Regions from separate parts of the Homo sapiens genome. Here all the other regions are linked to region 3. The links are contacts of gene promoters, found by promoter capture Hi-C in human tissues and cell types (Jung and others, 2019). All regions are on one chromosome and are shown on one strand. Each heading gives the region's core, a stretch centred on a gene start or on the middle of the fragment in contact. The rest is flanking DNA. Distances are from core to core; before and after follow the strand shown. Region 1 has its middle 50 kb from the start of CCKAR. Region 2 overlaps TBC1D19 (TBC1 domain family member 19). Region 3 holds the start of SEL1L3 (SEL1L family member 3).

What was found. The method cuts DNA at HindIII sites, captures the fragments that hold promoters and counts their contacts. A contact is called where the count stands out against the background at its distance.
Region 1: a fragment that was not itself captured here is called in contact with the fragment with the promoter of SEL1L3 in region 3 in 2 of the 25 tissues and cell types used here (lymphoblastoid cells and thymus).
Region 2: a contact is called between a fragment that was not itself captured here and the fragment with the promoter of SEL1L3 in region 3, in 1 of the 25 tissues and cell types used here (lymphoblastoid cells).

Annotation. Positions count from the first base shown.
Region 1 is chr4:26,439,303-26,442,276 of GRCh38, forward strand. No RefSeq gene overlaps it. Among named protein-coding and RNA genes, the nearest start is that of CCKAR, 50 kb to the right of the region's middle. The HindIII fragment of the contact is 3,524 bases long and covers 1-2,974 here.
Region 2 is chr4:26,744,120-26,747,234 of GRCh38, forward strand. The region is part of intron 18 of TBC1D19 (TBC1 domain family member 19); the gene reads left to right. Among named protein-coding and RNA genes, the nearest start is that of STIM2-AS1, 110 kb to the right of the region's middle. The HindIII fragment of the contact is 3,212 bases long and covers 1-3,115 here.
Region 3 is chr4:25,861,710-25,864,483 of GRCh38, forward strand. It overlaps SEL1L3 (SEL1L family member 3), which reads right to left and starts at 1,279. Exons shown (of 24, transcript NM_015187.5): 1 at 966-1,279. The coding sequence starts at 1,127. It overlaps LOC102723733 (a long non-coding RNA gene), which reads left to right. Exons shown (of 2, transcript XR_427503.5): 1 at 1-444. RefSeq lists silencers at 278-572, 843-1,302, 1,353-1,512. The HindIII fragment of the contact is 7,102 bases long and covers 1-2,774 here.

The DNA.
Region 1 (2,974 bases), core at 88-2,587, 580 kb after region 3:
CCTTCTAGTGGAGAGAGGCAAGAAACAGTATGGATGCATGTTTACCTATCAGAGGGCTCAGAGATAGATAGAATCTGACCATCAAAGGACCTTAGCAGCATCCAGGGTGAGAATTATGTTCTAAATGTACTGATATGTGATGTGGAGCATAAAACTGCTGCCTCTGATGTCACTGTTTATTGCAGTGGGGGTGCCGTGCACATATCACAGTAAGGTGAAGCTGGTTAAGTAACTTAAGCTTAGCCCAGCTGTCTTTCTCTGGGTCTGTTTCAGCCACCTTGAGGTAACCAGCCCCTGGGTATACTATTCATCAGGGTAGAATGACCCCTGTGAACTGTAGGGATCGAGAGAGGAGTAAGAGACAAGGAAATCCCACCAGACACTGACACAGCCGACTGTGACTCTGGGATTCCTATATACCAAGAAGGCGCTACTTAAAGGGTCTCCAAGGAGTTTCCTGATAGAGAACCCCACCTTAGAGTAGAGTCAGACAAGTTGGAGGCGGGACGGAAGAGCCAGGCTGACGAAAGGCAAGGGAACTTGCAGATGGGCTGAGGAAACAGCCTCACTGTCACTCTTGGTTTGGTTCAGGAGTGACCTCTGTCTACCACAGAATGCAACTAGATGAGTAGCAGGGAAGTCTGAAGCGGGAGGTAGGTGGAAGGAGGAGCGAGCTGGGGGTTGAGAGAGGAAATCAAGAGTTTTCGCTATGCCCATTTTGAGATCCCTGTTAGACTTCAAGTTGAAAGGACAAGTAGGCAGTTGGATCTCCATGTCTGGAGTTCGGGGCGATGTCTGTGCTGGATGGGAACATTTGGGAGTCAGTCACTTGGACATGATATTTAAAGCCATCATCCTGATGAGATCACCAAGGGAGGGGTGTATGGAGAAGAGGTGAGCCCCGGGGGAGGGCGTGAGATACCAAGTCACTCTCAGGTCTTCAGTGTGACTCCCGAGATTCTGCATTTTCCAGCATGCTCCCACGTGACACCGATGCTGCTGGTCAAAAGACCCCGCTTCGGGTGGCAGGAGCTTAGTGTGTCCACAGACAGAAGTGAGAGTGATTGACAAGAAGTGAAAGAGTGGCTTTGCTCCATAAAAGTAATTATTTTTAGTGATTGTTACTGTTTTCCAAATAACTGTTAACAGTCATTTTAGAATTTGCTGCCTTGTTTTTTTAAACAGAGTTAAAATTTCTCCTTATACTTGAGAAGGCCCATATACCAAATTACAAATGGGATAGTCAGATAATGTGATAATGTGGCCCGTCTAAAAGCTAAAATGTTCATATGCAACTGTAGTCACGATACAGAGGCTTGCATTACCTAACCGTGTGCATAAACCTCAGAGCCTTTTGACATCCAAGGCGAAGTTGCTGTATGTAGAAGTTCGCATACAGTTGTTGGGCAACTCCTGAGTTTAAAAAACCTTTGGTTTGGGGGAAAAGAAACACCTCAGTTTTAATTGGCGAGCTCCCCTACTCATGAGAGCAGTTCTGCAAATTCAGAGAGGCTAAATTATCACAAAAACCTAATAAGAGGTATCTGTGCTGAGATTCACAGACAGAGACAATCCTCAGAGCTGTGTCTCCTCACTCAAACTGGCCAGGCGTATCTGTAGAGAAACCTTCCTGTGGCCTGGCTCTGGAAGGGCCGTGCTTTCTTTTCCACACTGTGATTTGAGATCTAAATGACACCAACAAAGACACAGGTGCCTTCTAGGGAGGGGATTGTGGATACAAGGTGAGCAGAGAGAAGCAAAGTAGAGGGAGAGGTCCCAGAAATGTGGAGGTCCCAAAGACGGGTTGTCAGAAGACAATTGAGATGTGCACTCCCGTCACTAATGAGATTTGGAACACACGTGTGTGTGAATGTGCATCCCCACTACCACCACACACTGCAAACCTGCTCTGAAAATGTTTCAACAAAACCAAGGAGTCTCTTTTTGGAATGTGATGCTTAACATTTTCTGTCATGTGATTTGAACACCGGCCAAGTGTGTGCAAAGAGCAGAGCTTCGGACACAGTTACTGGAGTTTGACTCATTGTGGACAAGTGGAGAGAAAGACGACTTTGTAGGCACAAGAGCCCAGGCAAACCTGGGGCTTTGCTTTTGTTTTTTGTGTTCGTTTTAACATTTGTAATAGACATGGAGATATTTTCAAAGATTGAAAGTAGCATGTTAGGGCATATGAAATACTTTGTTTTCTGAGATGTAAAAAAATTGCAAACTCACATTTTGTTAACTAGGTGCAGATCACTTCATTATAGTGTTGCCTGAAATATTGCACATCCTAGGCTTTAACTCACTGGAGGCAGCTGATCACTCTCTCATGTTTGAAACTCTTCACATGGCTTCCTGGACACCAAGCTTTCAGGCTGCTCTTTCTCAGTCCGCCTTGCTGGTTCCTTCTCACCTTCCCAACCTCTGCATCTTGGAGAGTTCCAAAACAAAGTCCCATCCCCTGAATTCGGTTAACACAAAATGATGCTATGTGATTATCTTCTCTAAAAGTATTACAAATCCCACCCCATTTCCATACTGATGGAAATTATCTAAAATGAATTAGGGAAATGGACCATCTATCCTTCCAGTTACTGGGAAGTCCTACCCACTTCCTTTAACCTAATAAGAAAATCACCAAAGCGATGGTGCTCCCCACCTGTGCTCCTCCCATGGTGACCTCTCCCCCGTCTCACATTGAAACACCAGCTATATGGAAATGACTCCAGAATTCATAGTTTCTGCCCAGACTTCTCACTTGAACTCCAGAAATGTAGATATAGCTGCTTATTTGACATCTGAAGGCTATAGGCGTTCCAAACTTCTATCTAAAACGAACTCATTATTTCCTTCCCCTTGCCTTCACCTAATCCACCGTACCCAGCCAGGCTTCCACCTTGGGTAAATAATGCCTCATTCTTCCAATTGCTCGGAGGAGAACTATGAAGGTAGCTGTGATTTGGTTCTCTCT
Region 2 (3,115 bases), core at 310-2,809, 880 kb after region 3:
GTAGTTTATGTCTTTTACTAGGTTATCATATTTATAAACAGAAAGTTATTCATAATATTCTCTATGCTTAGCCTTTTTAATATTTATAGGGTTAGTAGTGACATCATCTTTGTCATTCCTGAGATTAGTAATTGTATTATCTCCCATTTTTTCTTGATTATTCTGGCTGCAGGTTTATCAATTTTATTCATCTTTGAAAGAATCAGTTTTTTGTACCATTGATTCTTTTTCTCTGTTGTTTTTCTACTTTAATTTTATTTATTTTTACTCTTATATTTATTATTTTCTTCTTTTTGCTTGCATTAGATTTATTTTGCTCTTGTCTTTCTGCTTGTTTAAGGTAGAAGTTAGATCATTGATTTGGGACTTTCTTTTTTTCTAATATAAGCATTAATGTTACAGATTTCCCTCAAATTACTTATTTACCTCCACCTAACAAATTTTGATATGTTATATTTTCATTTTTATTTAATTAGAAATGTTTCATAATTTATCCTGTGGTTTCCTCTTTGAATATGGGTTATGTAAAAGTACGTTGTTTAATTTCTAAATATTTGGAAAGCTATCTTTCTGGCATTTATTTCTGTTTTAATTCTGTTGCAGTTAAACAGCATGCTTCACATGATTTCAGTTGTTTTAAATGTGTTGAAGTTTGTTTTTTGATCCAGAACATGATCTGTCTTGGTCCATGTGCACCTGAAAAAAATTTGTATTCTGCAAGTATCGGGCAGAATGTCATATAAATGTCAAGGAATCAAGTTTGTTAATAATGATGTTCAAACCTTGTATACACTTACTAATTTTCTGTCTACTTTTTCTATTAATTATTGAAAGAGAAATGTGATCAGCTCTAATTATAATTGTGGATTTTGTCTATGTCTTCCTTTAGTGCTTTGTCTTTTTCTTCACGTATTTGGATGCTTTGTTTTTAGGAGAATTGATCACTTTATTATTATATAATGTCCTGTTTTATTCCTAGTAATAAATCTACTATGTCTGATATTAATATAGCCATTCCAGCTTTCTTTTGATTATAATTGCATGATACATTCTTTTCTATTCTTTTACTTAACATATTGATTATCAATATCTTTTTTTAAGTGGATTTCTTATCGAAAGTTGGGTCTTCCTATGTGGCAGTCTGTTTCTTAATCGGTGTGTTTATACCATTTATAGTTAATAAAATTGATATTATTGAATTGGAATCAACTATATTACTAAATTTTTTTAGTTATTCCATGTTCTCTTTATTCCTTTTTTCTCATTCTCTGCCTACTTTTGAATTGAACATTTTTTATTCCATTTTATCTCCACTATTAGATTTTTATACTTTTAAAGTATGTTTTTGATAGGTGCCATGAGGTTTACAATATACTTCTTTTTTTTTTTTTTTTTTTTTTTTTTTTGAGATGGAGTCTCACTCTGTCACCCAGGCTGGAGTGCAGTGATGCGATCTTGGCTCACTGCAACCTCACCTCCCTGGTTCAGGCAATTCCCCTGCCTCAGCCTCCCAAGTAGCTGGGATTACAGGTGCACGCCACCATGCGCAGCTAATTTTTTTTTTGTATTTTTAGTAGAGACGGGGTTTCACCATGTTGGCCAGACTGGTCTCGGACTCCTGACCTCAGGCAATCTGCCTGCCTTGGCCTCCCAAAGTCCTGGGATTACAGGTGTGAGCCACCGCACCCAGCCAATATACTTCTTTAATTAATCACATTCTACCTTCAAATAAACTTCAGGCCTAGATGGCTTCACTGGCAAATTCTACCAAGCACTCCAGGAAGAAGTGATATCAATCCTTATTTTTCTGTGGCTACTGTCAAGATTTTTGTTTTCAGTTCTCACCACTTTGATTATGATATATCTAGGCATAGATTTCTTTGGATTTATCCTCTTGGGTGTTTGCTAAGCTTGAATTTATAAGTTTATGTCTTTTGCCAAATTTGGCAGTTTTGACCCATTATTACTTTAAATATTTTTTTCTGCACCATACTCATTCTTCTTTTCTTCTGGCAATCCAGTGGCACAAATGTTCAAACTTTTGATATAAAAGAAAAAAAGAAGATGAAGAAAAATAAGGTTTGTTATTTTCTCACAGGTCCTTGCAGGTCTATTTTTTTTTTTTTTTTTTCCATAGAGATAGGTTCTTGCTTTGTTGCTCAGGCTGGTCTCAAACTCCTGGCTTCAAGTATTCCTTCCTGTCTCAGCCTCCGAAAGCACTGGGATTACAGCCATCACCACACACAGCCCTTCACTTTTTCTTAATCCTTTTTCTGTATTGTGTAGATTGGACATTTTCTACTGATCTATAGTCAAATTCTCTGGCTCTTTCCTCCATCATTCTCATTTTACTATTGGATCCCATCTAGTGAGATGTTTTTGTGTGGTTTTTCGGTTATTGTATTTTTCAGTTCTATAATTTCCATCTGGTTCTTCATACAAAACATATTGAACTGTACACTAATAAGGGTAATTTCTGCTATACTGTAGTTTCCCCTTATCTGTGGGAGATATATTCCAAGACCCCCAGTGGGTGCCTGAAACTGTGGATAGTACTGAGCCCTGTATATACACCATGATGTTTTTCCCTATATATGAATAACTATGATAAAGTTCAATTTATAATTAGGCACAGCAAGAGATTTACAATAACTAATAATAAAATAGAACAATTATAACAATATGCAAGCATCACTACTCTTACTCTTTGGGGCCATTATTAAGTTAAAAAAAAAAGGGTCACTTGAACACAGGCGCTGTGATACCAGGACAGTCAACCTGATAACCAATGTGGCTTCTAAGTGACTAACATGTGGGTAGCACGTACAGCATAGATACACCTGACAAAGGGATGATTCATATCTGGAGTGGGACCGTGCGAGCTTTCACCAGGCTACTCAAAACAGCACACAATTTAAAAGTTATGGATTATTTCTGGAATTTTTCATTTAATATTTTTGGACTGTTGGTGACCACAGTTGGCTATGGGTAACTGAAACCACAGAAAGTGAAACCGTAGGAGGATGACTATACATAAATTATAGCACAATAAGCTTTATTTCTAAAAAGCTATGCTATGTTATTTCTATATTGGTGGGTGGGGATGTGTGGCACT
Region 3 (2,774 bases), core at 29-2,528:
TACAGTAATATATGGCGAGATAACCCAAGGTTTCTGCAGGATTGTGGAACATAAGTTACTCTGGGCAGGAAGGGTGTCGCCTTCTGTAAATTTACTATTGTTTAGGAGAACTCAAAACAGAAGCAAGCAAGCCCTCAAAGGAACTGAGAAAATTTCTCCCCACTTTGTTCTGAGGGGTCTCAGCTACTCTGGTATTTAAAATAAATGGGTTTTGAAAAATAGGTTACTGCCCTTTAGTTGATGACTAAAACAGAAGCCAAGAAGTGTGCAAATTGCAAACTGACATGCATGAGCCAAACATATTCTCTGAAATGACAATGTTCAAGACGCAGCTAAAGTCACCACTCTGGCGGTAAGCGTGTTACAGAGAACTAGATTTCTTTCCGGCATCCGCAACTTGGCTGGAGTGACCAAGGAGGAGTTGAAGAGCGCTGGAGATGCGAGGTGCGTTGGCAGAAAACTGTCCGGGCCGGGAGGACCCGGTGGAAACTAAAAGGAGGGTCGACGCGGGTGGCGGGCGCCGAGAGTAAGAGGCGAAGTTGGGCACGGGAAGGAAAGGAGCTGCGAGAAGATTGAGAGGGAAGCCCAGGAGGGGTGGGGGGTTGGGGGGTGCTGGAGACTGCGCGCGGCGGGGCGGGGAGCGAACTCCGGGCGGCGAGGCTCCCGGGTGGAGTCGAGGACAAGAAGGGGTCTCGAGGGTAACCCGACCCGGGTCTAGAGAGAGTCCAGGAGGGAAAGGAATGAGCACGAGCGAGAGAGCAGCTTGGCAAGTCCGGTCCAAGCGCCCCTCTCCACGCCCGGGGTACCTATCCCAGGTGCCGGGAACGCCCGGGGCGCAGCGACGAGGAAGAGAGAAAACTAGCAGCGGCGTCCCCGCCCCGCGTGGCGGGTGTCCCCGGCCGCCCCCACCCGCGTCCCCGGGGCCCCGCGCGGAGGGGAAGACCCGGGCAGGGTCCGGCGCTCACCAGGTAGCAGAGCAGGAGCAGCGCGCAGGCAGAGCGGCCGCCGAGGCCCTGGGGGACGCCGCCACTCGGGACCATGGCTGCGGCCCGGGGGCCGACCGCGAGCGGCGGGGGTTGCTGCTGCTGCTGCCGCGGCCACCCGAGCCCCGCGCCGCGCCGCTGCATGGCGAGGCCGCCCGGATCCGGGCCGGAACAGGTCACCTGGTGCAGGGACCGGCCCCCGCCCGAGGCGCCACCTTCCCGCCCGCCCCCGGCCGGGCCGGCCGCCGCGCGCGGGGCCACCTGCCGCCACCTCCGGACCCGCCGCCGCCGCCACTGCCGCTCCCGCCGTCGCCGCCCCCGCAGCCCCAGCCGAGCGCCGGCTCCTCCCCGCCTCCCCGTCCCCGTCCCCTCCCTCCCCTCTGCCTCCCTGCCCAGCCCTCCTCCCGGCCGCTCCCTCTGGCCCCCGGGCTTCCACCCCTCGGAGCAGCGGGCGCCCACGCAGGTGGGCACCGACCCGGGTCCCGCCCCTTGGCCGCCGCCACCCCCCGCCCGGGTCGCTGGGCCCCGGCGCACCCCCCTTTCCCTTTCTCTCTGCTCCTCCCCCGCCCCCCTTCCGCGCTCCTGCTCTCTGCGATCCCCCTCCTCTCCCTCCGGCTCCCTCTTCCTTCTCCCCTCGCGCTCCCAAACCCCCTCTCTTTTTCACTTTCTCCTTTTCCTCCCTTTCCTCTTTCTCCCTTCCCATCCTCTTCCTCGCTTCCGCATTCTTCCTCTCCCACCCACCCCTTTTGCGGGTCGCACAGACCAGTTCCCGCCCGTGCAATGGGTTTTTGTCTGGTTGCTTTTTTGGCCGGGGCGCCATTCCCGCAGGGCGCAGGGCGAGTGTGCCCCCTGGAGTTGTGCCGCGCAGCTGCCCGGCTCCCAGGCCTTCAGGATGGATTTTGACCCCTGCCAACCTCCACCTGTCCACCTGCGGGGTTGGGACTGCCTCCTTGCTGGCATGTTTGCAGCCGGGCTGCGCCCCACCCTGCCGGCTGGTTCGCGGCACGTTCTGGATGTTTCCCGAGGGTTTTGTGTGGTGCCGCCGCCACCGCCACCACTGCGCTCTTTGTTTTAATTGTCCAGAGTATTGGCACCCAGGACGGGTTTGTATTTGATTTGCATCCCTGTGCTCCGGCTTCCACTTTGGACTGAGAAAAAAATGAATTAATTAGGTCAATACAGTAATACTGGAGCCCCAAATGAAAGGGGTGAGGCCCTGGAAGTGCGCAAACAGCTTTTTAAAAAACCAGGACACATCCTCGGCCTTGGGGACGCAGGTTGAGACTGGCTGCTCTCCGACCCGGGTTCTGCGGCCTGGCGGGGAGGGGCCTCCGGCCGGCGGGACCACCAGCTCGCCGCCGGCCTTGGCTTTCAGGGAAGCGCTTGGCTGTGTCTAGCGGCTCCGACAACTATCTGGGCCCGCAGCTGCTGCTCTGAAACAGTTAATCCACCTTCCAAAGTTCGCAGAAGCTTCCCTTTAGCACTGGTAGATTTGTGCGGATTGGAACTAATAATAGCCTGGGAGCCTGAGAGGCCACAGCCCTTTCCCTGTGCCACGAGCATAGGTCAAGTCACAACAGACGTCGGGGAGAGGCTGGTGGTGAGACGGGGTGCCCGGGATGGTTTGACGGGCGTGGACGCGCCCTCAGCTGCTTCAGTACAGGCCTGGCCACACCAGGCATGGTGGCTCCTCAGCTGTCGTCCACTTTTTTTTAGGTCACCTAAGAGCTGTGGCCTTGTGTGAGTTCCCTGGCCTTATTCCACCGGTTCTCAAACTTCAGAATTACCTGG